6 separate regions of the Homo sapiens genome follow, and all the other regions are linked to region 1. Evidence: promoter capture Hi-C in 16 types of primary human blood cells and fetal thymus (Javierre and others, 2016). All regions are on one chromosome and are shown on one strand. The core of a region is centred on a gene start or on the middle of the fragment in contact, and the rest is flanking DNA. Distances in the headings are between cores, read along the strand shown.

Evidence for each region. The method cuts DNA at HindIII sites, captures the fragments that hold promoters and counts their contacts. A CHiCAGO score of 5 or more calls a contact.
Region 2: a fragment that was not itself captured here is called in contact with the fragment with the promoter of CSTF2 in region 1 in 1 of 17 cell types (total B cells); the score reaches 6.1 in total B cells.
Region 3: a contact is called between a fragment that was not itself captured here and the fragment with the promoter of CSTF2 in region 1, in 1 of 17 cell types (non-activated CD4 T cells). The highest score is 5.3, in non-activated CD4 T cells.
Region 4: a fragment that was not itself captured here is called in contact with the fragment with the promoter of CSTF2 in region 1 in 2 of 17 cell types (activated CD4 T cells and endothelial precursors); the score reaches 5.6 in activated CD4 T cells.
Region 5: a contact is called between a fragment that was not itself captured here and the fragment with the promoter of CSTF2 in region 1, in 1 of 17 cell types (erythroblasts). The highest score is 5.4, in erythroblasts.
Region 6: a fragment that was not itself captured here is called in contact with the fragment with the promoter of CSTF2 in region 1 in 6 of 17 cell types (total CD8 T cells, total B cells, non-activated CD4 T cells and 3 more); the score reaches 8.1 in total CD8 T cells.

What each region holds. Positions count from the first base shown.
Region 1 is chrX:100,818,205-100,822,051 of GRCh38, reverse strand. CSTF2 (cleavage stimulation factor subunit 2) reads right to left here and starts at 1,661. Exons shown (of 14, transcript NM_001325.3): 1 at 1,578-1,661; 2 at 447-525. The coding sequence starts at 1,635. RefSeq lists enhancers at 1,430-1,589, 1,870-1,919, 1,930-1,989. The HindIII fragment of the contact is 13,366 bases long and covers 1,555-3,847 here.
Region 2 is chrX:101,299,255-101,303,101 of GRCh38, reverse strand. No RefSeq gene overlaps it. Among named protein-coding and RNA genes, the nearest start is that of TAF7L, 9.8 kb to the right of the region's middle. The HindIII fragment of the contact is 1,775 bases long and covers 1,371-3,145 here.
Region 3 is chrX:101,277,443-101,281,289 of GRCh38, reverse strand. It overlaps TAF7L (TATA-box binding protein associated factor 7 like), which reads left to right. Exons shown (of 13, transcript NM_001168474.2): 7 at 2,255-2,296; 8 at 3,169-3,241; 9 at 3,571-3,684. Among named protein-coding and RNA genes, the nearest start is that of TAF7L, 12 kb to the left of the region's middle. The HindIII fragment of the contact is 211 bases long and covers 1,990-2,200 here.
Region 4 is chrX:101,211,878-101,215,724 of GRCh38, reverse strand. No RefSeq gene overlaps it. Among named protein-coding and RNA genes, the nearest start is that of DRP2, 6.0 kb to the left of the region's middle. The HindIII fragment of the contact is 3,058 bases long and covers 306-3,363 here.
Region 5 is chrX:101,195,783-101,199,629 of GRCh38, reverse strand. No RefSeq gene overlaps it. Among named protein-coding and RNA genes, the nearest start is that of DRP2, 22 kb to the left of the region's middle. The HindIII fragment of the contact is 2,811 bases long and covers 472-3,282 here.
Region 6 is chrX:101,103,167-101,107,013 of GRCh38, reverse strand. All of the region lies in intron 4 of CENPI (centromere protein I), which reads right to left. Among named protein-coding and RNA genes, the nearest start is that of CENPI, 6.9 kb to the right of the region's middle. The HindIII fragment of the contact is 5,027 bases long and covers 1-3,847 here.

The DNA of each region.
Region 1 (3,847 bases), core at 412-2,911:
GCATGATCTTGGCTCACTGCTATCTCTGCCTCCCGGGTTCAAGCAATTCTCCTGTCTCAGCCTCCTGAGTAGCTGGGACTACAGGCATGGGCCACCACGGCGGCTAATTTTTGTATTTTTAGTAGAGACAAGGTTTCACCACATTGGTCAGGCTGGTCTCGAACTCCTGACCCCAGGTGATCCGCCTGCCTCGGCCTCCCAAAGTGCTGGGATTACAGGCTTGAGTCACTATGCCCTGCCTAAAAAACATTTTTAACGAAAAAAACATATTTTAGGTAAGAATAAATGTCAATTGTATAGTGTATCAATTATATCTCAATAAAGCTGTTACAAGAACAAAATGTATGTGAAAAGTCACCAGTAAAGAAAACCTGCCATTATTACTAAGAGCCAAATCTGTGGTGATTTTTAAGAAGCTCCCACCATGAAGGAAAAGGGGATCTCACCTGAAACTAACAACAGGTCCAACCTCAGAAAAGATGTCCTTCAACTGCTCTTCAGTAGCTTCATAAGGAATGTTCCCCACTAAGGAAGAAAATAGGTAACATTAAAATTCTGAGTTTATAACATAGATCTTTAGTGAGAAAGTAAACTTATATCATCAAATATAAGACTCAAAATAGTGTTCTCCAATCCCAATTCCATTGTATTTCTTCAGACCTCTTAACAAAGGAAATATACCACTGAAACTAAATACAAAATGTGTAGGTACTCTCAAATGTTAGTTCTCAGACTGATCTGACACGTGTTAGATTTTCCTTAACTTTGGTGCAAATAAATACTTTGGCACTGGTATTTACCTAAAGATCTGCAAGTCTCATCAGTGACTACAAAAAATATCAATGTTATTTAATATAATTTTTAAAACAGGTTCCTATGTATTTCCACACATACAACATTTAAGGGAGAATGACGATGAATGTAGTGAAAGATGTTTAAAAAGTATTCTGAACTACTTTGTCATGTCCCTTTCAAATGGTACTCTAAAATAATCACACGTATTTTTAAAAACAACTTATTTCAGCCAAAAAGATAATTCAGAATCGTTTCGATCCTTTTTAAAATTCCTCTGAGGAGATCTTAATAGTTCATTCATTCATTCACTTACAAGCCATCTCAGGACACCAGGTGGCCGCTACCACTATTGATGCACTAAAATGTTACAGATAAAAAGCAAAGGATGAAAGTCCTTAGGAGAGGACAGTAAGTGGACACTAGGATCTATACCCTCAGCATATAGTCTGTATTCTGGGGCAGAGGATGAGAAGTAGTACGGGACAGTGAGGAGCTGTTACCGTGAGCCTTCTCCTCTAGAGAATAATTGAAGCTCATGAAAGGAGAAACGCACAGAAGCTGAACGCTAGTCTAACTTCCCCACTGATATTGCGGAAAGCCTACGAGACCTCGGCAGAATGGGAATATCTCTTTGCTCATGAGTCCACCAGGTTGGACGCCCTACAGGATAAGCAGGGAGAACTGCACGTCCGAACCGTCAGCGGCTCCGGTAGCGATTCATGAGATAGAAGGTGCAGAGGGGAGTCCCTCCCCGAAGCTTGACTACAACGAATTCCTCTCACCGAACACAGAACGTAGAGAACGATCCACCGCTGGGTCTCTCACAGTCAAACCCGCCATAGCTCTGTTGAGTCGGCTTCCGGTGCGCCAAAGCACACTTCCGTACGGAGCACAAGCCCAGCGCTGAGCACGCTTCCGTACGGCGCGTGAGCCGGAAGGGCCTGGGCGGAACGGACGCAGAGCCCCTCCCCTGGAGACATTCTGTTAGCCGCAGGCGCGAGTTGCGTCCACCGGAGGGCTATATTCTCACTCCTGAGATTAACTCTGTTCCGAGCCAGATGCAGGCGAGTCCAGGCTAATTTGAAGGGTTTCAGCCTGCAGACTTCCTTCTTATTAATTTTCTCTTAGGTTGATGCAAGTACTCCTCAACCACAATAAAGGCGCAGCGGCTTTACCATGGTAACAGGGAAGTCCTTTGCTGACAACTGTGGGGCTTGCATTTTAGTTCCGCCCTATCAAGGGAGGGAAATGCTTGGGCCCGTCCCAGCAGCGTGCATATTATTTGCTAAACCTGTTCGTGTGTGGAGTGAGATGAGGAAAGGGCATGCCAGCCGAGAGAAGCATAGTTAAAGAAATGGGAGAGGTAAAGGGAGAACAGACCTCTGTCCTCGTGTAGTCCGTGGGTTCCATGTGCTTCGTGGTGGGGCGGTGCGGCAGGGGATTCTGGCAGGCAGAGTATCGGAAACAGAAAACGTCATTCATCGGTTTTTCCACACTTTGGTGCCCACGCGCCTGGGATATGGCATGCAGGGCAGGTCGTTGTATCATCCCGGAAAGGCAGACCCTGCCGGGGTTGGAGGAAATCCAGGGGGCACCTCAGGAGGACAGGGTTAGGGGATAAGCAAAGGAAGGAGCCAAGAGCGCTACCTTTGAGGGACTTGTCCGAAAAAGGAAGACGGTAAAATAGCCACGGAATTGGAGGCATGGACGTTTTTATTAATTCCACATGTATTAAAAGTATATGGGCCGGGCGCGGTGGCTCATGCCTGTAATGCCAACACTTTGGGAGGCCGAGGCGGGCGCATCACCTGAGGTCGGGAGTTGGAGACCAGCCTGGCCAACATGGAGAACCCCTTTTCTACTAAAAATACAAAATTAGCCGGGCGTGGTGGCGCATGCCTGTAATCCCAGCTGCTCAGGAGGCTGAGGCCAGAGAATCGCTTGAACCCGGGAGATGGATGTTGCGGTGATCCGAGATCTGCCATTGCGCTCCAGCCTGGGCAACAAGAGCGAAACTCCATCTCCAAAATAAAAGTATATGAAATATGATAAATATTTAGAAAAAATTAATAAGTGCTAGTTTACACCATGAAGCATATCACTTTAAGAAGTAATTCTGGTAAAGATGGAAAGTTTGAGAAGAGTATACCCATTTCCATGACTCTAGAGTCCCATTTGCAATCACTGTGTGACCAAGAGGACACCTTGTGTAATGGAATGGTCCAAAAGGAGATTTACAGCTCTGTAGAAGGCACAGTTTCAAAGAGTTTTGGTGTGTCATTGTTCCGTTGTGGTGAACTTTTGCTAAATGCATGTACGGCTGAGTATATTTCTAACTCAGTGTTTGGCAAACTTACATAAACAAAAGATTAACCTGGGGTCTTTGAGTAAGAGTATAGATTCCTGGGGCTCCACCCCAGCCCTATGGAATGGGACTCCAGGGAAAGAACTTGGGAATCGTTATATTTAAACAAGTGCCACTGGCGATTCTTAGGGTCAGGTAATTTGAGTAGCATTGTAGTTATTGAGGTAGCTTTATGGCAGCATTTAAGACACGCATGCTTTCTTATGAAATTTCCCTTAAAGTAGTTCTCAAAGTTCTCAACCCTTGTGGAGGAGCATTTTTGGAAATGTACAGTGGCATTTTCAGTTGTTGCAATGACTACTGCTAGGGGAAGAGAAGCCAGAGATGATAAATGGACTGCCATGTCCAAGGCAGTTCTACAGGATGAACCCCTCCCCCCACTGAATGCCAATAATGTCTCTCCCCTTGAGAAACACTTAATATCAGCCATATTAGACCAAATGGACCCTGGATCTGAATGCTATGTTGCACTGCCAGCCTTGCATAAATAATTTTTACTTTAGCCTTCTTACAACTGTGTAGCTGATCCCAATGAGTTAGTAATAATAAAAGCTAACATTTATTAAGCACTTGCTGTGTCCTCATTGTATTAGTTTTCTATTGCTGTGTAACAAATTTCCACAAACTTAGTGGCTTACAACACTCATTTGTTAGCTCACAGTTCTGTAGGTCAGAAGTTTGGGTGGA
Region 2 (3,847 bases), core at 1,009-3,508, 480 kb before region 1:
ACTTTAATACTGTAATTGTGATGTGTAAACCACTCAGATCTCTAGTATGAAAACTAAAAGACAAGGCTATCAAAAATAATAATAACCATAACAAGTTTATAGTAGATGGGCAACGTAAAACCATGTAAATTGGCTGGGTATGGTGGCTCATGCCTGTAACCCCAGCACTTTGGGAGGCTGAGGCGGGCAGATCACTTGAGGCCAGGAGTTCGAGACCAGCCTGGCCAACATGGCGAAACCCTGTATCTACTAAAAACATAAAAATTAGCCATGCTGGTGGAACATGCCTGTAATCCCAGCTACTTGGGAGGCTGAGGCACGAGAATCACTTGAACCTGGGAGGCAGAGGTTGCAGTGAATCAAGATCCTGCCACTGCATTCCAGCCTGGGCAACAGAGTGAGACTCTGTCTCAAAAAAAATAAATACATAAAATAAAAATAATAAGATGTAAATCAAGACAATAAAACACCAACAAGGAAAAGCCCAGAACCCGATGGCTTCATTGCTGAATTCTACTGAACTTTAAAAGAGGAACTAGGTCAGGCACGGTGGCTCACATCTGTAATCCCAGCACTTTGGGAGACCAAGGTGGGCAGATCACGAGGTCAGGAGATCGAGACCATCCTGGCTAACACAGTGAAATCCTGTCTCTAATAAAAATACAAAAAATTAGCCAGGCGTGGCGGCGGGTGCCTGTAGTCCCAGCTACCCGGGAGGCTGAGGCAGGAGAATGGCATGAACCCGGAAGGTGGAGCTTGCAATGAGCCAAGATCACCCCACTGCACTCCAGCCTGGGTGACAGTGTGAGACTCCGTCAAAAAAAAAAACTGAAAAACAAAAAACTAATATCAGTTCTTCTCAAACCCTTCCAGGAAACTGAAGAAAAGAAAATTCTTCCAAACTCATTTGGAAGAATCTATTAGGCCAGCATTACCCTGCTACCAAAACCAGACAAGGACACAACAGAAAAGAAAGCTGTAGACCAATATCCATGATGAGCATAGATGCAATAATCCCTAACAAAATACTAGTAAACCAATCCCAGGAGCACATTTAAAATATCATTCACCATGATTGGGATTTATCCCAAGGATGCAAGGATGTTTCAGTGTATGCAAATCAATAAATGTGATATAACACATCAACAGAATGAAGAACAAAAATCATTTTATCACCTCAATAAACTCAGTAAAACACATTTGATAAAATTCAACATCCCTTCATGATAAAAAGTCTCAACAAGTTAGGTACAGAAGGAATGTACAGCAGCACAACAAAGGCCAAACCTACAGCCAGCATCAGACTAGCAATCCCACTTACAATAAATCCCATTTACAATAAATACAAAAAGAGGGAACAGTTGGAAGCTTTTACTTTCAGATCTAGGACAAGACAGGCATACCCACTTTCACCAGTTTTATTTAATGTAATGCTGGAAGTCTAAGCCAGAGTAATTCAGCAAACGAAAGAAATAAAGAGAATCCAAATTGGAAATTAAGGAAGACAAATTGTCCTGTTTGCAGACAACACGATCTTATATGGAGAAAACCCTAAAAGCTCCAGCAAAAAAACTGCTAGAACTGATGAACAAATTCAGTAAAGTTGCAGAATACAAAATCAACATATAAAAATCAGTAGTGCCGGCCACGGTGGCTCACGCCTGTAATCCCAGCACTTTGGGAGGCCAAGGCTGGCGGATCATGAGGTCAGGAGATTGAGACCATCCTGGCTAACATGGTGAAACCCCGTCTCTACTAAAAATACAAAAAATTAGCTGGGCGTGGTGGCGGGTGCCTGTAGTCCCAGCTACTGGGGAGGCTGAGGCAGGAGAATCACTTGAACCCAGGAGGCGGAGCTTGCAGTGAGCCACGATCATGCCACTGCACTCCAGCCTGGGCAACAAAGCAAGACTCCATCAAAAAAAAAAAAAATCAGTAGTGACTCCATACACCCCAACAATGAACTAGTGGAAAAAGAAAGCAAAAGAAGCAATCCTGTTTACAATAAATAGAAAAAATACCTAGGAATGGCCAGGCGCAGTGGCTCACACCTGTAATCCCAGCATTTTGGGAGGCTGAGGCAGGCAGATCATGAGGTCAGGAGTTCGAGACCAGCCTAGCTAATATGTTGAAACCCTGTCTGTACTAAAAATACAAAAATTAGCCGGACATGGTGGTGGGCACCTGTAATCCCAGCTACTCGGGAGGCTGAGGCAGCAAATTGCTTGAACCTGGGAGGTGGAGGTTGCAGTGACCCAAGGTCATGCCACCGCACTCCAGCCTGGGTGATGGAGCAAAACTTGGTCAAAAAAAAAAAAACATAGGAATATATTTAAATGAGGTAAAAGATCAAGATGAAAAAGTTATAAAACACTAATGAAAGAAATTGAAGAGGACAAAAAACAATAGAAAGACTTTCATGTTCATGGATTGGAAGAATCAACATTTTGAAAAAGTAATCTATTACCAAAAGTTCTCTATGCGTTCAGTGCAATCACAATCAAAACACTAATGACATTATTCATAGAAATATTTTTTAAATCTTAAAATTTGTATGGAGTCACAAAAGATTCTGAGTAGTCAAAGTAATTCTGAGCAAAAAGAACAAAGCTGAAGGCACCACACTACCTGACTTCAAAATATACTACAAAGCTATAGTGACCAAAACAACGTGGTACTGGCATAAAAACAGACACATAGACCAATGGAAGAGAATAGAGAATGCAGATATAAACCCATGTATTTACAGCCAACTAATTTTTGACAAAGGTGCCAAGAACATTCATTGGGGGAAGTGACAGTCTACTAAATAAATGGTGCTGGGAAAACTGGATATCCATATGCAGAAAAATGAAACTATACCCCTATATCTCACCATATATAAAAATCAACTCAAAATGGATTAAAGACTTACGTGTAAGACCTGAAACTATGAAACGACTAAAGGAAAACAGAGGAAATACTTGAAGACATTGGTCTGGGCAAAGATTTTACGGCTAACGCCTCCCAAGCACACACAACAAAAGCAAAAATAGAGTAGTGGGATTACATAAAAAAGAAAGAAAATTAACTCAAAATGGATTAAAGACCTAAATGTAAGACCTTAAACTATAAAACTCTTAGAAGAAAACATAGGGGAAAAGCTTCATGACATTGGATTTGACAATGATTTCTTGGATATAACAACAAAGGCACAGGCAACAAAAGAAATAGTAGATAAATTGGACTTCACCAAAACTAAAAACTTTTGTGTACCAAAGGATGCTATCTAGCTGGGATTACAGGTGCCCATGACCACGCCTGGCTAATTTTTTTTTTTTTTTGTATTTTCAGTAGAGATGGGGTTTCAGCAGGTTGCCCAGGCTGGTCTCAAACTCCTGACCTCAAGTGATCAGCCTGCCTTGGCCTTCCAAAGTGCAGGGATTACACCACGCCCAGCCAGAATATATGAAGAACTCTTACAACTCAAGAACAACACAAAGTAGAACCCAACTAACCTAATTAATAAGTGGGCAATAAAGTTGCAGAATACAAAATCAACACACAAAAATCAGTAGTAACTATACACTCCAATAATGAACTAGTGGATAAAGAAAGTAAAAAAGCAAACCCATCTACAGTAACTAAAAAAATACCTAGGAGTATATTGAAATTGAATAGATGTTTCTATTCAATATTTCATATGCTAATTGGCCATTTGTATCTCTTCCTTGGAGTAATAAAATAGGCATTTCTCCAAGGAAGAGATACAAATGGCCAATTCGCACATGAAAAAGATGCTCAATATCATTAGCCATCAGGGACATGGAAAGCAAAACCACAATGAGATACTACTACATACCCATTA
Region 3 (3,847 bases), core at 846-3,345, 460 kb before region 1:
TTGAAATAATTGTAAATTCATATACAGTTGTAAGAAATAAAAGAGAGATATCGTGTACCCTTTCGCCATTTTCCCCATTTTGCAAAACTATAGTACAATACCACAAACAGGTAATTGACATGATTAGAATTCTGCAATCTTATTCCAATTTCTCCAGTTTTACTTGTACTCGTGTATTTTTGTGCATGTGTTTAGTTCTATGCAGTTTTATCCCATGTGTAAGTTCATGTATCTGTCTACACAGTCAAAATACAAAACAGTTTCATCACAAGGATCCCTCATTTTGCTTTTATATAACCATGCCCACTTCCCTTCCACCTCACACCCCAGTCTCTGACACTTGGTAATCACTAATCTGATCTCTATCTCTGTAATTTTGTCATTTCAAAAATTTAATATTAATGGAATTATATAGTATATAACATCAGAGACTAGCTTATTTTTTCATTCAGCATAATTCACTTAAGATCCATATAAGTTTTTGTAGCATCAATAGTTTATTTTTTATTGCTGAGTAGTATTCCATGGTATGAATGTACCACATTACATAACTGTTCTCCCTTTGAAGGACATCTGGGTTGTTTACAGGTTTTGACTATTATAAATAAAGCTGTGAACAGGTTTTTGTGTGAATATAAGTATTCATTTCTTTGGAATAAATGTCCAGGAGTATAATTGCTGGGTCATATGGTAGTCACATGTTTAGTTTTGTAAGAAATGACCTGTTTTCCAGAGTGACTGTACCATTTTATATTCCTGCCAATAATGTATGAATGATCCAGTTTCTCCACCTCCTCACCAGCATTAGGTGTTGTCACTATTTTTCATTTTAGCCATTCTGATAGGTGCATAGTGATCCCATTGTAGTATTAATTTACATTTCCCTGATGGTTAACGGGGTTGAGCATCTCATGTGCCATCTATTCCACTTCAGCGAAATGTCTGCTCATGCCTTTTGCCTATTTTCTAAATTGATTTTTTATTATTGAATTTTGAGAGTTCTTTTTATATTTTAAATACTACCAGTGTTTTATCAGATATGTAGTTTGCAAATATATTCTCCCAGTCTGTAGCTTGTCTTTCCATCCTCTTCGTAGGGTCTTTCAGAGAGCAAAAGTTTTTAGTTTTGATGAAGTACAATATATTGATTTTTTTGAAAACGATCTTGCTTTTTATAGTAAATCTAAGAACTCTTTGCCTAGCCCAGATCCTGAAGATTTTCTCCTGCTTTTTTTTTTTTTTTACATCTTTTTAAGCCTGATGCCCATTTTCGACTTAATTTTTGTAAAAGCTATGAGGTTTAGTTCAAGGTTTTTTTTTTGTTGTTGTTGTTGTTTTGTTTTTGTTTGTTTGTTTGTTTTTGCTTTTCTTGCCAAAGGATGTCTAATTGCTCTCGCACTATTTGTTGAAAAGGCTATTCTTCCTCTGTTGTATTGCTTTTGCACCTTTGTGAAATATCAGTTGGGCTTGGTTTTATGGGTCTGTTTCTGGGTTCTCCATTCTCCTCCACTGATCCATCTGTCAATCCCTCCACCAATATCACAGTGTCGCTATATAATTGGTCCTGAAATTAGAAGGCTGATTGCTCTGACTTTACTTTTCTTTGTCAATATTGTTTAGCCATTCTAGAGTCCATATCTTTATTTATTTATTTATTTATTTATTTTTTGAGATGGAGTCTCGCTCTGTTGCCCAGGCTGGAGTGCAATGGCACGATCTCTGCTCACTGCAGTCTCTGCCTCCCGGGTTCAAGCGACTCTCATGCCTCAGCCTCCCAAGTAGCCAGGATTACAGGCATGGGCCACCATGCCCGGCTAATTTTTGTATTTTTAGTAGAGACGGGTTTCACCATGTTGGCCAGGCTGGTCTCGAACTCCTGACCTCACGTGATCCGCCCGCCTTGGCCTCCCAAAGTGCTGAGATTACAGGCATGAGCCACCACGCCTGGCCAAAAGCCTGTATCTTTTAATATAAATTTTAGAATAAGCTTGTCTATAGCTATAGAAAACCTTGCTAGAATTTTGGCAGGAATTACATTAAACTTGTAGATCAATTTGGGGAGAACTGACATTTTTACTATATTGAGTCTTCCAATCCATGAACACAGTTGCCTTGGCTTTTATACTCTGTAAATCAACATTTATTGAGTGCCTACTAAATGTAAAACTAAGTTAAGGATAGTTGTAGAGCTCTTTAAGCTTTACTGAAATATAGGTATCATAATATAACTTGTTTATTGTGTTTTATTTCATAGGTCCCTGATGTCAAAGAAATGGAAAAAAGCAGCTTTACTGAGGTAGAGCAATCATAATATAACTTCATTTTTACCCTTAATGTGTTTTATTTAATAGCTCATTAGTTTCAAATGAATCAAATAAACCACAGAAGCTACTTTTGAGCCTTCCTTCTCACCTCTAACCCTCATCCTAAACACATACACTGGGTTTGATTCACTAAAAAATGAATTCATTGTTTGATGTTTGATAACTGCTAGAGGAAAAGATACAATTTGGCCAGTGACCCCGTGTATTCTAATCTGCTCTTTTTATTCTGATATTTATTTCAAAAGCCATTCCTTGGGAGCCAGAGCTCACTTTTAACAGCAGTTGTTTGCAATTGCTTATTCCCCATCAAAATCCTAATTTCTATTTGTGGCACAACAAATTGGTTGCTGTGGAGATAATTATGTAAAACTGGATTCAAGGGAGAACATGCAGCTAAGATCCAGTTTTTATAGGAACGTCTCTAATAATAAAGATGTGGGGAAGTGAAATCTGGGAATTTGGATCTTTAAACCAAATTATTTCTAAATAACTAATAAGGAATTATAGTTCTTTGCCAATATAAATCAGGAGAAATAATTTATAACTGAGACCTAAGGGTTGCACCTCTGAGAGAGGGCTTTACCATAGAGCTGCAGATTGAAAAGATTAAATGTCTCAAGTAATTTGTTTAATTAGGAAAAAAGTAAGTTTACTGTACAAAATTCTAGACCCTGGCTAAAGATTCCTTTATAAATAGCACTACTTAAAGTAGAAATTTGGTTGGATCAGAATTTAAAGAGGCCTAACATTTGAATTCGTTGGTACGTAGGAGGGCACTCCTGCAACACACAGGGTGTTAAATGACAGTATTGGTATCCCCCTCTAATCCCCAACTTTGCTTCAGTACATTGAATCTCCAGACGTGGAAAATGAAGTAAAGAGACTGCTGCGTTCGGATGCTGAAGCCGTAAGTACCCGTATCCTTTATACAAATATTTTCTGCATAGTCTGTTCTGCCCCATTTGTACATGCTGACGAAGCCTCACCTCTGGTGTTTGTGTGCCAGTCTTGATGTGTGGAACTTAAGATTCTTTGAAATGTTCTAGCTAGGAACAGTAAATTCATGTAATAGAAAATTATTTATTGTGTAATTCAATATGAGGCACTTCTCCAAACTAGGAATTCCAATACAAATGGCCTAAAGTTGGACTAAATTAAATAGCACTGTTAGCCAAAGAGCCCCTTCCCTTTCAGCTGTGCCTTTTTGTTTCCTTCTGTGTTTTCCTTGACTACCCACTCCTTTCAGGTTGGGAAGTCATTGCTGAAGATGGAACCAAGGAAATAGAAAGTCAAGGCTCCATCCCAGGATTTTTGATATCCTCGGGAATGAGCAGCCACAAGCAGGGTCATACCTCGTCAGGTACTTTAGTAAAGGCAAAGCAGGAGTTTCAGATAGGGCAGGTATTGACTGGGTATCAGATCATTTTCCATAAATTCATAGGCCAATCCAAAAAAAAAAAAACCCAGAAAAAAAGGATGGTTTCGTCCTTCCCTCTTTTTTTTTTTTTTTTTTTGAGATGGAG
Region 4 (3,847 bases), core at 585-3,084, 390 kb before region 1:
GTAGGAGGGAGGGATTTTCACCATGTATGATATAGATGCAGGAGGCTGGGAGATAAGTTGAAGGAACAGGTTAAGTTGGAGGAACAGGTTAAAAATGTAGGGGGCACAATGTCAAAAAGGCTGGAATTCGTCATTGGAGTTGATAAGGAATAATGCAAAGCCATAACAGACTAAGGGTTAAAGAATCAGTATTGTCCCAGTCAATGGTCTGAGCACTCTCTGTTGCTTTTGTTGAACATCTGAAAATGTGGAACTCATTTTACACACTTGGTTACCTCCCACCCTCTTCTGCTGTTCTTCAAGCTTCTGCTAAACCAGACCCAGCAGCTGGGATGTTATATAACATAACTTCTATTTATGTTTTCAAATATATTCCACTTAGGCCAAAACCATTCAAGCTACGGTTAAAGTGGTATAGTGGAAAGAATGTTGAATTAGGAGTCAAAAGACAAAGGTTCTAATCCCAATTTTGCTACGAAATTGTCACTGACATTTTTGAGCTTTGATTTTTCCTTCACCAGATAGGAGATAATAGCTGTCTGCCCTGTTTACTTCACTCATTTGGATTGAGACTCAAATGGGATAATGGATGTGAATATATATTGAAACTATAAAGTGTTATTCAAATGTAAGAGATTATTATTTCTATTGCTTCAAGGTCCTGGTGGTTTTCCTATATGCAAAGGACATACATCCTAGAGTAGACTATAACAGCTAAGGACGTCGTGCCAGGAATGTAATTAGCTCCCTGTTTCCATGCTAGATCAGATACTATATTTCTTTAAGTAGACACACCAACCACACAATTCAGGTTTATTCACTATCTTTCACATTATCAACCTTCCTATCCTCCTTTCAGCCCAGACTGCTAGACATATGCACATTCACTAGCAACCTTTCACATATGAGCTTCCAAGAAAACACACACAATTCAATAAGAACTACTGATTTTCGGCTGGGCACAGTGGCTCACGCCTGTAATCCCAGCACTTTGGGAGGCTGAGGTGGATCACCTGAGGTTGGGAGTTCAAGACCAGCCTGGCCAACATGGTGAAACTCCATCTCTATTGAAAACACAAAAATTAGCCAGGCATGGTGGCAGTTGCCTATAATCCCAGCTACTTGGGAGGCTGAGGCAGGAGAATCACTTAAACCCGGGAGGTGGAGGCTGCAGTGAGCCAAGACCACGCCATTTCACCCCAGCCTGGGCAAAAAGAGCAAAACTCCATCTCAAAAAAAAAAAAAAAAAAAGAAAAAGAAAAAGAAAACAACTACTGATTTTCTAGGCTAAAGAGAACTGCTATTGATTTGTACTTTCATTGTGTTTAGGATACTGAGGCAAGATGGTCACTCACTTCTTGCTTGTAACTTGGATTGAGAGGGGAAGGGAACTAACATTTTTGAGACTGTATTCTGTGCCAAGTAGTGTACCTATGTGCCAGTGTTACCTCCTGCAATGCTCACAATGATTCAGTGAGGTAAGGGTTATTATTTCCAACTTTACAGACAAGGAGACTACAGCTCAGAGATGTTAAAAGTAACTTGTCCAAATTCATAAAGCTAATAAAAAAATGCAAGCTGGGATTCAATCCCAAATCCACCTGACTCCAAAGCTGATACTCTTCCCACATCTCTCCTACTTTTAGGCAGGGCCACAGTATTACAAATAGGACACATCCTAGAACTTACCACTTCATAATTCTAGGTGCACTTGAAAGCACATATTGGCATATATGGGTGGCAAGCACCTTGACCACCAACTGGTAGAGACCCATTTCAGGGATGCCTTTAAACCCTGAAGTTGCTTCAGAATCTAAAGCAACCCTGGGCCTAAACAACAAGAGCTGTCTGTTTTATATCTAGTAGCAAGCTCTATCTGTCTCACAAAAGAAAGGCAGGTATTTATTTGCTTGGTAGAGGCAAAGTGACAATTTCAAGGTGAGACTCTGTCAGCGATAAAAGGATGCCTCATACAGGACAATAACCAGTCAAACTTGGAGCTACCATATTGCCCCCTCCTTAGATCCAGTCTTAAATTCGATCTCACAGGAGTCAGTGGAGTTAGTAGGTACCTACTTGGTATAATTTGAGGAGGACTGAAATGCTATCACTAATAAAAATGACTTCCCCTGCTGGCCCCACCATGGTGCCTGCAATTCCCTATTAATCATTTCCTTCAAGTTAAAGCATCTGTCAAAATGAAAGTGCTATCTTCAGTTACTATACATTATACTCATTAGTTTGTCTCTTTCGTTCTAATCACCAGACAGGCATGGGATAGAGGGCAAATGATTTTGAAGGGGAAGGCAAAGAAGGAAAGATTCAATATGATGTATGATGCACAGCTAGAGTACAACAGGGCTAGGGTAAGACATTTTAAAACCCCAAGAACGATGGCTGGGTATGGTGGCTCACACCTGTAATCCCAGCACTTTGGGAGGCCAAGGCAGGCAGATCACGAGGTTAGGAGTTCGAGACCAGCCTGGCCAACATAGTGAAACCCCGTCTCAATTGAAAATACAAAAAATAGCTGGGCATGGTGGTGCACACCTGTAGTCCCAGCTATTCAAGAGGCTGAGGCAGGAGAATCACTTGAACCCGGGAGGTGGAGGTTGTGGTGAGCCAAGGTCACACCACTGCACTCCAGCCTGGGCAACAGAGCGAGACTCCATCTAAAAAAAAAAAAAAAAAAAAAAGGAAAAACAAACAAACAACCCCAAGAATGAAAGAGATAGATAATGGTACAAACCCTAAGTGCCTATAAATAATTTAAGATATAAATAATACTAACCTATAAAATAAGCATGAGAGAATTCAACAAAATCTGAACTTTTTCATAATTACAACTGCAATTCTTTCTTATTGTCATGCGGTTCACTTTTTAAAAGTGCACAATTCAGCCAGGTGTGATATAATCTGAGCACCTTGGGAAGCTAAGGCAGGAGGATTGCTTGAGCCTGGGAGTTCAAGACCAGCCTGGGTAACACAGTGAGACTGTGTCTCTACTGAAAAATATTTAAAAATTAGCCAGGTATGGTGGCTCGTGCCTTTAGTCCCAGCTACTCGGGAGGCTGCGTGAGGAGGACCATTTGGGTTCAGGAGTTCCAGGTTGCAGTGAGCTATGATTGCACCACTGCACTTCAGCCTGGGTGATAGAGTGAAACTCTGTCTCAAACTAAAAACTCCATACCCATTATCAGTTGCCCCCAATATCCCCCCAGTCCCTTCTCAGGCCTAGGCAGCCACTAATCTACCTTCTGTCTCTATAGAGTTTCCTATTCTGGCCATTCTACACAAATGACATCAAACAACATGTGGTCTTTTGTGTCTGGATTCTTTCACGTAGCATATTATCATCAAGCTTCACTACATCATTCCTATGTATGGCTGAATAATATTCCATTGTATAAATATACCACATTTTATTTATCCATCCATCAATTGATGGACATTTAGGTGTTTCCACCCTTTGGCTATTATGAATATTATTGCTATGAACATTTGTGTGCAAGTTTATTGTATGAATATATGTTTTCAATTCTTTTAAGTACATACCTAGGAATGGAATTGCTGTGTTATATGATAACTCTGCATTTAACTTTTTGAGGAACTGCCAGACCGTTCATCAAAGTGGCATCTCCACGAGCAATGTACAAGGGTTCCCATCTCTGCATATTCTTGCCAATACTTGTCTTTTTTAGTATAGCCATCCTAGAAGTTATAAAGTAGTATCTCATTGTGTGGACTCAAATCTTTAAAAAAAATCTTTAATGCCTCTATTTAGCTGGTTTCCTAAGCATGTGCTTAATCTACCTATTATTAGGCCATCAAGGACGGGGATCAGTCA
Region 5 (3,847 bases), core at 628-3,127, 380 kb before region 1:
AAGACAATATCAATTTAAAAAAGAAAAAAAAATGGTTAATGGTCCCACTGAACACTTCAAGAAAAAAGTATGTTATCCCAGCATTCAAATTAGATAAGTAAAATAATTGCTTCTCTCTCAAATTGATTAAATCTTCCTCTAAACAGATTATTTTGCTTTTCTTTTGCTTAGATTTTTTGCTTTGGATGTGGTATCCAAGTATAATAAAGCAGAAGAGAGAATTTTCTTCCTACTCCCAGATATTAGTTTATGCCATACAGACATCATATATTCTTCAGAAGATTTGCTCTGACCCAATTCAGGATACTTTGTTTTTGGCAAATAATCTGAGTAAAAAATGCCATTCCTCACTCTGTGATTGTGTGTATATTTATACAGTTTTTAATTTCCCTGGGAGTACTCATACCCAGTTTGAAAAGCATGCCTTTAAATAGCCAATCTAGTCACAATGGCTAATTGACAGGAAAAGCTTTCAAGTGCTCAAAGGGATCATTGATCCTTTTATTTCGCGATGAGCAAAGAGATCCTTAGAGCTAATTAAATTATGATCCTAATATTCTTCCCTTTCATTATTAGCAGTATTTGGCCCTGATTTTTTTCCTGGAGCATGTGTACTCAATTAGGGGTGAGGGAAACACATGTTTTATAAAACAAAAGTGGTCATTATTCTCTGCTCCAATAAGAGTGTGTTTTATCTTTTATCATTAAAAGAGGAATCAGTATTTTTACCAGGAGTTTTCAAATACATTTTTCTTTGAAGAAAGTTCTGGTGTGTTTCAATTGTTTTAAACTAAGATTAAGCTCAGGGCAATAATTCAAAACGTTTAAATTATACATAGTGATTAGTTTTAATTTTTAGTGTGGGAAAGTGGTAATTGAAGACAACATTAATTTGGTAATGTTAAAGCATTAAGTGGAGAACAACCTTTCAATTTTCCTCACCCTAGTGTGATTTATTATATTATAGCCCATACTTGCAGTATCTATATTATCTGCTTCAAGGTATTAGATCTTATGATACTAATAATCTTAAAAAGGAGATATTTTTCTTAAGAGAGTACCAGGCACCAGGTGTGGTGGCTCACGTCTATAATCCCAGCACTTTGGGAGGCCAAGGGGGGCAGATCACCTGAGGTTGGGAGTTCGAGACCAGCCTGGCTAACATAGGGAAGCCCCGTCTCTAATAAAAATACAAAAATTAGCTGGGTGTGATGGCACGTGCCTGTAATCCCAGCTACTTGGGAGGCAGAGGCAGGAGAATCACTTGAACCCGGGAGGTGGAGGTTGCAGTGACCCGAGATTGTACCACTGCACTCCAGCCTGGGAGACAGAGTGAGACTCCATCTCAAAAAAAAAAAAAAAGAGACCGGATGCGGTGGCTCACGCCTGTAATCCCAGCACTTTGGGAGGCCAAGGCGGGCGGATCAGGAGGTCAGGAGTTCGAGACCAGCCTGGCCAACATGGTGAAACCCCATCTCTACTAAAAATACAAAAATTAGCCAGGCGTGGTGGCGGGCACCTGTAATCCCAGCTACTCAGGAGGCTGAGGCAGGAGAGTCACTTGAACCCGGGAGGTGGAGGTTGCAGTGAGCCGAGATCGTGCCACTGCACTCCAGCCTGGGTGACAGAGCGAGACTCCATCTCAAAAAAAAAAAAAAAAAAGAAAGAGTACAAGGAGCAGCTTGCAATACCATATGATTTTATTCTCAAAATGGTGTAATGAAAAAAACCCATAGACTCTGGTGTTAGTAGATCTGAAAGGCAGACCTGACTCCATTATGAATGACTTTGTGTGAATTATTCAATCTTTCAGAGCTTATAGTTTCTTCAACTGTAAAATGAGACTATTATAATAATGCCTGCCACACTGAAGAATCTGGATGAAAGGCATCCACACAATATCTTAGAATGTGAACTGGATATAATGCATGACAATATTTTTTTTTAGACAGGGTCTCACTCTGTCACCCAGGCTGGAGTGCAGTGGCATGGTCATGGCTCACTGTAGCCTCAACTTCCCAGGCTCAAGCAATCCTCCCTCGTCAGCCTTCTGAGTAGCTGGGACTATAGGTGTGTGCCACCATACCCTGGTAATTTTTTAATTTTTTGTACAGATGGGGTTTCGCTACGTTGCCTAGGCTAGTTTTGAACTCCTGGGCTCAAGTGATCCTCTCACCTCAGCCCCACAAAGTGTTGGGATTACAGGCAAGAGCCAGTGCACCCAGCTTGATACTATTTTTAAAATTCCAGTACAATTAGGCTGACAAAGGTTTAGGTTTGGGGTTTAAAAATCTAAAAATACTAAATAGTAAAAAATGCAGTATAAAGATTTTAATAATGGTCGTGGTAATCTAAGACTGACAGAACCAGTATTTTAATGGAAAAAAAGGTTACTTTTCAATTCCTAGAAATAAGTATTTCATTACTGAGAGAATAAGTGTATATCTGTTTGGGAAGAAGGGAGTGCACAGAAGGAAGAGATTATAGGTAAGCCTCTATATTCTATTTTTAATTTCTTTATTATTTATTTATTTATTTTTTGAGACGGAGTCTCGCTCTGTCACCCAGGCTGGAGTACAGTGGCGCGATCTCGGCTCACTGCAACCTCTACCTCCCAGGTTCAAGCGATTCTCCTGCCTCAGCCTCCCGAGTAGCTGGGATTACAGGCACACACCACCACGCCTGGCTAATTTTTGTATTTTTAGTAGAGACGGGGTTTCACCATGTTGGCCAGGCTGGTCTGGAACTCCTGACCTCAGGTGATCCGCCCACCTTGGCCTCCCAACATGCTGGAATTACAGGCGTGAGCCACTGTGCCTAGCCTAAGCCTCTATATTCTAATCCACTTGTTGTAGGGCCCTGATATGGGCACCCAAATGTAGCTTTAAAATATAAGGAGAATGACAGACAATAGTATATATGAAATATTCTTATCAAAAGATAAGATCTACTCTAATTAAACCTGTAGGGAAAAAAGGGACAAAGGAGCATGTTAAACAATATCATGAGAATAGAATGAGCAAACTCTAGAATGTGGGAAACTTAGGAAGACACCCAGTTTCTTCAACAAAAAAATTGCAAAAATAAAAAGGAACAAGGAGAACCTATAGATTAAATGAGGCATTAAAGACATATCAACCAAATGTAACCTGGGGACCATTTAAAATACCTGAATCAAACAAATGGTTATAAAAATACTTTGAGACAATCAGGGAAACATAAAATAGACATATATTAAGGCAGTATTGTTAATGTTTTTAGATATAATTATATTAACAAGCTTTTTAAAAGAATTATTGAGACAATATTAGCGAAAATGGAAGAGTAACGGCCCCCCAAATTCAGTCCTCCGTAAAATTTTTTTGAAGCCAAAACTAGTCAGAATCAACATTTTCAGAACTCTGGAAATTAACCAAAGGCTTGCAGCAACCTGGGGAATGTATTTTAAAGAAAAACACCTGAATCTCTGTAAGAAAAGTGAGCTTCACGTCATTTTAATTTGTCCTAGTTCCATCTCCCACTCTCTAGCTCTGCAGTAGCCTTAAAAAATTACAGTCCACATTTATGAAGAAAACCAGCAGCCTGACACGTGAGGGAGCAGAAAGAGGTGGGAGCTTATTCAAAGCCTCATTCCTAAACAACTGTCATTGTTATATATGTCTGGTGGTTCCCTGGAAAATACCACTTGCTCAGAGATAACACAGTGCAAAAAGCCTTCTCCAGGGGGAGTATTTGCCAAAAACAAATACAGGCAAGTGATTTAGCTTTGCAGCTGCCTAAGGCTGTGAATAACAGTTAAGGTACACAATAGACTAATAAAAAATCTTAAACAGAAAAATTGGGGAAG
Region 6 (3,847 bases), core at 968-3,467, 280 kb before region 1:
TCATAGCTCATAACAACCTCAAATTCCTGGGCTCAAGCAATCCTCCCACCTCAGCCTCCAGAGTAGCTGGGACTACAGGCACGTGCCACCATACCTGGTTAAGTTTTTTATTTTTAGCAAAGACAAGGTCTCACTATGTTGCCCAGGCTGGTCTCACATCCTGGGCTCAAGGGATCTGCCCACCTTGGCCTCCCAAAGTGCTGGGATTACAGGCATGAGCCACTGTGACTGGCCTAGAACAAGATATTCTTGGAATTGGCTGGCAGTAATACCATTCTACACTAGTCCAATCTTTCCACTTGATCTCAGGCCTCTATGGTGTTCTCCCATCTGGTAATAGAAATGATGTCACAGAGATCACCTGAGGTCAGGAGTTCGAGACCAGCCTGGCCAACGTGGTGAAACCCCATCTCTACTAAAAATACAAAACTTAGCTGGGCATGGTGGCGGGCACCTGTAATCCCAGCTACTCAGGAGGCTGAGGCAGGAGAATCGCTTGAACCCGGGAGGCGGAGGTTGCAGTTAGCTGAGATCACACCATTGCACTCCAGCCTGGGTGACAAGAGCAAAACTCCATCTCAAAAAAAAAAAAAAAAGATGTCATAGAGACTGGCTTTGAATATATCCTATCTCAATTTCTGTTAATTAAGGCTTCAAGAATTAGAATATATCTCATCACTTTCTACACTATCATTCTGTGGAGAAGAAAGGAAGCAGTGATGATAGGTAATGAATCACAAAAATAAAAATCTCTGCTTTCCACTCTTGTGGTTTCTTGTTTTTCTTGTTTTCTTTCTCACTCCCATCCACTAACTCTTCGAAATTTAAAATAGTCTCACCACCAACACATTACATGTGCACCAAATTCAAAGGGAGAATTCAATATTAATTCTATTTTTACTTCCAAGTGACTTAATTTTTAAAGAGTCTAAAGTCCCTTTGTACCTAATTATGATGACATTTCTACCATACCTGCCTCTAAATATGCATCTCAACTTACCAAAAGAGCTGCATGTAAAGATCTAGTAGGGATGGGGACATCACAGAAATAACTATAATAAAAGGGAGAAAAGGAATTAAGGAGGCCACATTTGACCTCAGCAAATTCCAGCTTAACAGAAAAAAAAAATGAAAAGTAACAATAGAAAGCCAGAGATTATTTTTTAACTTGCTATATAAAAGTTTCCCGAGTCTGAGGCATGCATTTTGAGACACCTCAAGTCCTAGCAGACATCAAGATAACCTAATCATTAATTTCTGAGATATCAAAAGGAGGCTGGGTGCAGTGGCACGCACCTGTAGTCCCATCTACTTGGGAGTCTGAGATGGGAGGATTGCTTGAGTCCAGAAGGTCAAGGCTGCAGTGAACCATGATCATACCACTGCACTGCAGTCTGGACAACACAGCGAGACTCTGTCACGAAAAAAAAATTTCTAAAATAGAAAACATCTGTATACTCCATACATGTTGTTTTTTTGTTTTGTTTTTTTGAGATGGAGTCTCGCTCTTCACCCAGGCTTGAGTGCAGTGGCATGACCTCGGCTCACTGCAAGCTCCGCCTCCTGGGTTCACGCCATTCTCCTGCCTCAGCCTCCCAAGTAGCTGCGACTACAGGCGCCCGACACCACGCCCGGCTAATTTTTTGTATTTTTAGGAGAGACGGGGTTTCACCATGTTAGCCAGGATGGTCTCGATCTCCTGATCTCGTGATCCGCCCACCTCGGCCTCCCAAAGTGTTGGGGTTACAGGCGTGAGCCACTGCACCCGGCCCCTACTCCATATATGTTTTAAGGTGAGATGGGAGTGGGAGAATTGATCTTGACAGACATTGTTCAGTTAAACATGGATTCCTGGAAAGATATTAGAACCAAATAATCTAAAACCATCTACAAGAAAAAAGCCAATTTTATTAGGTCTAATTTAACTTTCTAGGGAAACAGAGAACTAATCAGATAAAAATAGAGAAATAAAATACTTGACAGTCATATGTTGAATTCGGTTAGTAATGTGTTGTTACTTTAAAATAAATACACACACACCCCTGCAAGTATGCTGCTAGGGTATAAACAAAGGAATCTAACATGCAACAGCCAGGAAATACTTAGTATATAAAGCATTTGGTTTTGAGAGCTGTCTTAATTTTTCTTTTTTTTTTTTTTTCCCAGAGACAGGGTCTTGCTCTGTGGCCCACACTGGAGTACAGTGGCACCATCATAGCTCAAACTCCTGGGCTCAAGTGATTCTCTTGCCTCAGACTCCCAAGTAGCTGGGACTACAGGCACATGCCACTGCACCTAGCTAATTTTTTTTTAACATTTTGTAGACAAGGTTTCGCTTTGTTGCCCAGGCTGGTCTCAAATCTGGCTTCAAGCAATCATCCTGCCTTGGCCCCTCAAAGTGCTGGGATTATAGGCATGAGCCACTATACCCAGCCTTAACTTTTTTTTAAGTAGGAAAAAAAGCAGCAATGTGGTACAGTATAAGCACTAGAATGGGAGTTTGGACATCTTTAAGCAAGTCTCTTTAACTACTCTGAGCCTCTTTTTCCTCACCTTTAAATGAGAGTGTTTAGAGTCTAAAATATCTTCCAAGTCTGAATTTAAATGAGAAAAACTTAAAAGGTTCAAGTAAATAAAATATTGACCAGGTGTTATTTCTAAGAACCTCTTCCAACCATCCCAACCACCACCAATGAATTTAGAACAGGAAAAGATATTTGCACAAAAGAAAAAGCATCTTAGCTGGGCACACTGGCTCACGCCTGTAATCCTAGCACTTAGGGAGGCCAAGGCGGGTGGATCACCTGAGGTCAGAAGTTTGAGACCAGCCTGGCCAACATGGCGAAACCCCGTCTCTACTAAAAATACAAAAATTAGCTGGGTGTGGTGGCACATGCCGATAAGCCCAACTACTCAGAAAGCTGAGGCAGGAGAATCGCTTGAACCCAGGAGGCAGAGGTTGCAGTGAGCCGAGATCATGCCATTGCATTCCAGCCTGGGTGAAAGAGTGAAACTCATCTCAAAAAAAAAAAAAGAAAGAAAGAAAGAAAATGAAGGTAATGAAGTAGACTAAGTGATCTTTTAAGATGCCTTCCAGCAACATTGTTTAAATTACTACGTATGCTTCTTAAGATAAATACTAAAAAATGGTTCTCATGTATTTGGTGACAAAAGTATGTATTTTGCATTTTATCTGTGATGATATATGGTAACTGGTTATTTTTGGCATATGCACACAGAAACTTTTGGCCCAAACACACACACAAAAAAACCCATTTTATAATCTTAACAGATTGGTCTTATGAAGAGAACAGTAAACATAAAAAACTGCAACTAATTCCAATGAACAATGTAATTCAAAGTCTAAAAGGAAGGTCGGACACAGTGGGTCACGCCTGTAATCCCAGCACTTTGGAAGGCCGAGGTGGGCGGATCACCTGAGGTCGGGAGTTCGAGACCAACCCGACCAACATGGAGAAACCCCATCTCCACTAAAAATACAAAACTAGTCAGGCGTGGTGGCGCATGCCTGTAATCCCAGCTACTCAGGAGGCTGAGGCAGGAGAATCGCTTGAACCTGGGAGGCAGAGGTTGCAGTGAGCCAAGATTGCACCACTGCACTCCAGCCTGGGCAACAAGTGCAAAACTCAGTCTCAAAAAAATAAATAAACAAAGTCTAAAAGGAAAAACTAACAGCAAAGTGATGACAAAAGCATCCCAGGCTGGGCGCAGTGGCTCACACCTGTAATCCCAGCACTTTGGGAGGCCGAGGCGGGTGGATCACGAGGTCAGGAGTTCAAGACCAGTCTGCCCAAGATGGTGAAACCCTGTCTCTACTAAAAATACA